Regions from separate parts of the Homo sapiens genome. Here region 2 is linked to region 1. Evidence: promoter capture Hi-C in 16 types of primary human blood cells and fetal thymus (Javierre and others, 2016). All regions are on one chromosome and are shown on one strand. Each heading gives the region's core, a stretch centred on a gene start or on the middle of the fragment in contact. The rest is flanking DNA. Distances are from core to core; before and after follow the strand shown.

The links. The method cuts DNA at HindIII sites, captures the fragments that hold promoters and counts their contacts. A CHiCAGO score of 5 or more calls a contact.
Region 2: a contact is called between a fragment that was not itself captured here and the fragment with the promoter of FGF6 in region 1, in 1 of 17 cell types (monocytes). The highest score is 6.2, in monocytes.

What each region holds. Positions count from the first base shown.
Region 1 is chr12:4,444,233-4,447,612 of GRCh38, forward strand. FGF6 (fibroblast growth factor 6) reads right to left here and starts at 1,583. Exons shown (of 3, transcript NM_020996.3): 1 at 993-1,583; 2 at 1-4. The coding sequence starts at 1,338. The HindIII fragment of the contact is 8,014 bases long and covers 1-3,380 here.
Region 2 is chr12:3,889,878-3,893,257 of GRCh38, forward strand. The region is part of intron 1 of PARP11-AS1 (PARP11 antisense RNA 1); the gene reads left to right. Among named protein-coding and RNA genes, the nearest start is that of PARP11, 18 kb to the left of the region's middle. The HindIII fragment of the contact is 985 bases long and covers 1,407-2,391 here.

The DNA of each region.
Region 1 (3,380 bases), core at 333-2,832:
AGGCCTGACAAGGAAAGGGGGGCCACATTACCTAAGGCTTGTGCAAATCAGAGTGGGAACTTGAGCCGACAAGGGCATCTCAGTCCATCCCCCTTCTCCTAGAAAGCCAGACTCTCCATTGCCCCATCCATGATCCCTCTAACTCTAGGAGACCCTGGCTGCTGGACTCATCGAGTGCTGCCATTGTGCTGTTAGAAATCCAGTTCTGCAAGGGAAGGTTCTGATAGCAGAGTTAGGGGCTGCAGTGACCACTTAGCTATCTGTTTAAGATGAGCTTTGAATCTGGGCTTTCAGTGACATAATTACTTGAGGTCCTTGACTTGAGTAAAAAAATAAATTCTGATTCTTCTTCTTCTTCTTAATGTGTACTCTACATGTTTCAACAAATCTCAACCCACTTAATCTTGAAAACACAGCAGCCACACCATAGCTGATGGCTTTCTTGGATCCTGCAGCCCCCATCCTTTCTTGGATAGGAGACTAACCATACAGCAAGCTGGCAGCTTGCAGGCAGCTTGCAGGATAAGAACCTGGGGACAGAGGGAGCCGCTGAAATAAAAAGAAGGATGTGCTTCAGTTGGACATTTTGCAATTGAATTTCCCTTCCTTCTCCAAGAAAGAAGCTGAATAAAAATGAGCTTGTGTCAAATTTGATCCAAGTATACTAACTGATTCTCCCTACCCAGGCCTTGGGGGCTTCCCAGACTAATGGTTCCTAATGGTCTTACAAGGCATCAGATGGGCCAGTAATGCTGAAATAGTTAGTGCCACTGAGGATCTAACCAAGGCGATGGCAAAGAACACCAGGATGCTTGGACCGCAGTATATTGAGCTTGCACCCAGGCAGGGTCACGTGGAATCATCTAAGTGGTGAGCAGCATTTCTGCCCCCTTTATCGTGCATCCTGTCCGCTAGAGCAGGGCCCCTTCACCTTTTAGCCCTGCATGAGCCCAAACCCCCAAGCGTCCCGACTGGCTGCAGCTGGCACTCACTGTAGGGGTTCTCCTCGTGGGTCCCGCTGATCCGGCCGTCGGGGAGCACCTGGAGGTGAAAGCCGATGCCCACGTTGCAGTAGAGCCTCCGCTGCCGCTTGATCCCCACCAAATAGCCACTTTCCCAGTTCACCCCGGCAATCTCTCCAGCTAGCCCGGCGCGAGACCTGGACAGCAGGGTGCCCCAGCCCCTCGAGTCCAGCAGCGTGTTGTTGGCACGGGTGCCTGCAGGCGAGGGCACCACCATGCCCACTAGGATGCCTAGGAAGACGAGAGCCCACAGCGTGCCCTGCAGACGTCCTGCTCCCCGGGACATAGTGATGAACAGTTTCTGTCCCAGGGCCATCCACCTTGCCTCTCAGGCACGTGGTCAGAATTAATGGCCCTAAAAATACCGCCCTTCTTGTTTTTCTCCCTCCGGCATGGCGGCAGGGGCTTATTTTTGGAAGGCAGATGAAGGCTGCTGACATGAAACCAAAGCCTCCATCGGGCACTCGGGTTGAGAGCAGAGGGACCCAGGCTGAGCCGCGGCCGGTAGAGACCATGGCTCGGGGACGCTCTCTAGCTCGCCCGCTTGCTCCGTCCCTAGTTGATGATATTTGATTTGACCTATCTTTATAGTTGCTTCAGCAGCCCGGCCCTCCCCTCCACCCATCATCGCCCTGACGTCAACCCGCCCAGCTCACTTATCCAGGGCTGTAACATTAACCTGCTCTTGGGCCTGGCTGCCTCCCCAGACCCCCATCACCCTCCACACTCCCCAGGGGTTCTGGGAGCCACTGTCATTCCAACTATGAGGCAGGAATGAAGTGAGCAGGGAGCATCTCTGGGGGAGGGGGGAGCTGGCTGGGGGCCCAGGGAAAGAGAGAGGCGAGAGGCCACCCAGGACCCATATTGGGCAGAAGTTCTTTGCCTGGCAGCGCTGGCTTCCTTATTTAGAGGGCAATAGGTAGAGGCAGGGATGGGAAAAGGCTTGTGGTAGTGATGACCGTAGCCTCAAGTCACCCTTGAGATCTTTTCATGGAAACAGCTCATGGTGGAGGGGAACACTGAAAGGCCAAACCCTTTCAGCAGGAGGGCACAGACATTCTCAGGGGGTGGGGATGGGGGTTGTTCAAGGAGCTTTAAGATTGTGGAGGGAAGGAGGGCAAGGGCAAGGTTTGCCTGCTCACTGTCCTGGTCCCGACATTCACCTGGGGTGGAAGTTGTGTCTGGCCTTTGACACAGCCCCCTGGCCATTCTCCCTGGATTTATCCCTGGCATGTGACTGATATTATTCCCATTTCACAGATGAGGAAGTTGAGGCTTAGAGAGGATAAATGACCTGCCCGAGTTACCATAGCTAATAAGTAGCAAAGCCAGAACTTCTAAGGTGTGCCTGAGTCTAAAGCCTGTGCATGTCTAATGCTTGCAGTAGAAGTTGGCTGGCCCATAGAGTCTGTTTAGCTCCTTAAATGCCAATAGCACATCACAGAGTTATTTCAGTAGCATAAAATGATTTATTTCTTAAAAAAAACTTGAGTGTCTTTGATGTACATGAGAACTTCTATATTTGCAGATAACTTTTGCTGGGCTGATATTACACTCAGAAACTAGTAAAAATATTTCTGCCAGGAAGTTATTCCTACACTGATTTATCTTATTCCCATATTACTTTTAAATAGATTACATGTCTAACTGAAGTGAGAAAAAAAATGTAAAGCTACCAGAAAACTCACTGCACAAATTTCTATACAATATAAGACAGAACTATTAATACGTCTCTGAGGGTGAATAAGTTAACAAGGGTCGCTGGGGAATTGAATTAACTTGAGTTAAAAATCCTGTTTCTTGTACTTCAATCCAGGCCTTAATCTGTTGGTGAGACATTAGCACTGATTTTGCCGGGATTGGAGAGAGTATGTGTGGGGTGATGACAGTGGCATACAGATGGATTTGAGTGTCCTGAGCAGTAGAGCTGGTCCCAGCAGGCAGCTCCCTTAGCCACACTCTACACCCACATTGCAGGCTGCAGGCAGCCTGGAAAAGCTCCTGGGGTGAGTTCCATGGCCCAAGGACTCTACTGAGGCACCACCGCCTTCCCTCTGATTCTAAACCTTCTGCTGTGCCCTGGGTCCCAGCCTCTGGTCTGTGGCTTCTACCTGCCTTCTCTCTGCCCTTCTGCCTCGTTCACTGGGTTCGATGCTTTGGTTCAAATTTCTGTCAAGCCATGTGTTTAGTGTTGCCCTAGACATGCCTTCTGAAATCCTGTGAAGCCCAGATGTCTGTCTTTACCCTCAGCTGGTAAACTGAATGGGGAGGGACATAGGCACCACTTGTTCCTACTGTCACCACGGCCCCCTGACTTCCCCATTGGCTTCCTCTCCCTTCCACTGCCGTTGTCCCATA
Region 2 (3,380 bases), core at 649-3,148, 550 kb before region 1:
TGCAGAATACACACAATTACTAATTGAACTCATCGATGCCAACCCTATCCTAATCTAACTTTCCCTATATTGGCCAAGACAGCCTAAATCTTTGGGTTGGAGGCCAGGTTTACATTTTATCTAAAAAGTGGCATAGTTACAGTTTTTAATAATAGAGAAACTATTTTTGTGTGTTCGATATCATACCAGATATACATCCCAGCAGACATGGATTGTTTAAATATGTGAGCGCGTGGAAAGGGAGGATTGGCCTCCCTGACCCCCAACACTGTGAAATGCTTGTTCCTAGTAAATTATAAGTTGCAATAAGTCAGTTAACACCGTAGAATCACACCATTGTCCTAATAGTAAAATAGCTGTGAGAAAAGACTTGTGATAAGATTGTAACATAGGAAAAATAATGCCTTTCCAAAAATCAACAGTGCACAAGCTCACAAAGCATGCCAGAAACAAAGCAGAGACAAGAAGTCATTCAATTGTTCAACATGTGCTGCTGAGCATCTACTGTGTACCAAACCCTGTTGAGAACATGGGCATTAGGGACGTGGAGTTATATAAAAGATATATAGGCCAGGCACGGTGGCTTACGCATATAATCCCAGCACTTTGGGAGGCCGAGGTGGGTGGATCACGAGGTCAGGAGATCGAGACCATCCTGGCAAACACGGTGAAACCCCATCTCTACTAGAAATACAAAAAAAAAAAATTTAGCTGGGTGTGGTGGTGGGTGCCTGTAGTCCCAATTACTTGGGAGGCTGAGGCAGAATGGCGTGAACCCGGGAGGCGGAGCTTGCAGTGAGCTGAGATTGTGCCACTGCACTCCAGCCTGGGGGACAGAGCAAGATTCTGCTTCAAGAAAAAAAAAAAAAAAAATATATATATATATATATATATATATAGAGAGAGAGAGAGAGAGAGAGAGACAGAGAGAGAGAGAGAGAGAGAGACCTTGCTCACAAAAAGGTCACATGCCATCTTAAGGGAGAGACAATCAAATAAACAGATCACACTCCGTGGGATGACAGGTGCTACAATAGTGATTTGTGTCTCCACTGTGGCCAGGGGCTGATACCAAAGGAGAAATGCAGGACAAAGTGAGGATCTTATTTCCTGGGCGGCATGCCCAGTCCAGCACTCACAGACACCCTTCTTCCTATTCCAGAGTCCTCCTCACACACATGAGAAGAGGCTCTAGCTTCCTTTGTGGTCACTACCTCTAGTCTTCAATCACCAAGAAAAAGTCAGGAGTTGAAAGGCCAAACCGTGTACCATTATAAGCAAAGCTGCAAACTGACAAGTCAGTCCAAGGCTTACAAAGCAGTGTTTGTACGGTGCTTTCATAGGCTTGGTTGGGGGTGATAAGTACAAATTTCCCACGCAAATATATGTAAAGCTGGTGTTTAGTAAGCTTGTAATAAACGGGAGTGTTTATAACTGCTAAACATAATGATAACACTGGAACTCTTTACAAGAAAGCAAAACTAAAAGTGTGTGAAGAAACTGCCCGGCCACGTGCTGGGCTGTCCCCATCATCAGGCCCGGGAACGTAAACTCCTGCACCTTAGCTCCCTCGTGATCGACAGTCATCCAGAAAGCATATCACCTAAGCCACATCTCCCCCTTTTCCCAAAGCCCTGTCAAAGCTCGTCACTTTGAGTCAAGGAAAGCACTTGCCCTGGGAAGTCCTTCCTGTGAAGCCACCCTTATCCCTGCCATGCCTGAGCCCCAGACCCTCAACCCACCTCAGCCTCCGTCCAGTTACAAATCCCAGGCCAGTCCATCGCCTGGACTCTGGCTTCCCCACCCAGTTTCTCCTCTTCTGCTCTGCCTTGTCACCTCCTTTCCTCCTTGCTCTCCTGCTGCATCGCTCGGGAAGAAAGCCTGCTCCCCGAGAGGCTGGGCAGCAGAGGTACGACCATGCTCTCCTTCTACCTGAGAAAACCCAGGCCCAGGGAAGCCTCGCCCCTTGTCCAGGGTCACATTTCTTGTAAGTATTACATACTAAATATGTAATACATGGGACATGCAGGGACTTGAAGCCATTTCATTCTACTGTGAATAGTAGAATATTATGTTTCAGGGTCTAGACCCGAAGTCATCAGCTCCAAGAGGAGACTCTAAGATTTCTCATGGTGACTAGAAGCCTGTTAGAACACCTCCTAGAGACACACAATTGCATCCAGACTTAGAGGCATGTGGGAAAAGTAAATAAGAAAGGGAATGAGGAAAGTAACACAAGATATCATTTATATGTTCTGCTTCAAATTGTCTTTTCTGAGGGGTTTTTAGGACACAATACATCACACTTCCCTGTCCCTTGTTGTATTCAATCTTTCCAAAAGCTATGGCAGTAATGAAGGGTCTGGAAATGTCCTTCCACCTGCCATGTGAAGCTTCCAGCTGAGCTACAAGGAAAACCTAGACAGACAATCTTGAGAACCACGTGGGTGCACCATCACCTCCAGAGTCTCTTGGCCCTTTCTCTCCGTGATCTCGTCCACTCCATGAGTCCTTCTGATGTCATGCTAGAACTCCCGTAAGATTGTGTGCTTGGTCCTTAGAGCCTCCGTATGTTTTTCTTTCATTCCATAGGAGCACTATTTCAATGGGTATGGCCTCACACCCTCCTCCTGTCTCCATTTCCTTTAATCACATCTTAAGCCCCTGCAATTGGGCATCTGCCCAAACTCCTCTTCTGTACCTGCTCCCTCAATAGCCAGTGACCTTCTTCCCAAATCTGGTGATATTTCCAAGCCTCCCCTCTTCCCAGGCCTCCCTGAAGCAGGTGGCCCAGCTGATGTCTCCTTCCTTCAGGAAATTGTCTACATCTGGTCCTCTCTTGCATGCTCAGTTGTATTCCCTTCTTTAGGGAAGAAAGTAGGCTATGAACTAGCAAAGCAATGCCCTATTTCTGCCTTTGCTGCTTCCTGCTCCACCCTGACACATACTCTCACTCTCTCTCACTCTCTCTCTCTCTCTCCCTCTCTCTCTCTCTCTCTCTCTCTCTCTTTCTCTCTCTCACTGCTCCCTAAGTCCCTGAGTGTCGGTGTCCTGCAAGTCTCACTCCTTGGCCTGCGCTCTCCTCATTCTCAATAGGCTCATCCAGTCTCATGATTTTAGCCTTCAGCCCTGATGGCAACTCCCAGTCTTTGCTCCTAACTGTGACTCTCAGGTGTACTCTGTCTCATGGTTTGTTTATTTATTTATTTATTTATTTATTTATTTTTGAGACAAGGTCTTACTCTGCCCCCAGGCTGGAGTACAGTGGCTCAATCATAGCTCACTACAGTTTGGATCTCCCAGGGTCAGGCGATCCTCCCATCTCAGCCTCCCAAGTAGCTGGTACCACAGGCATGTGCCACCATACCTGGCTAATTTTT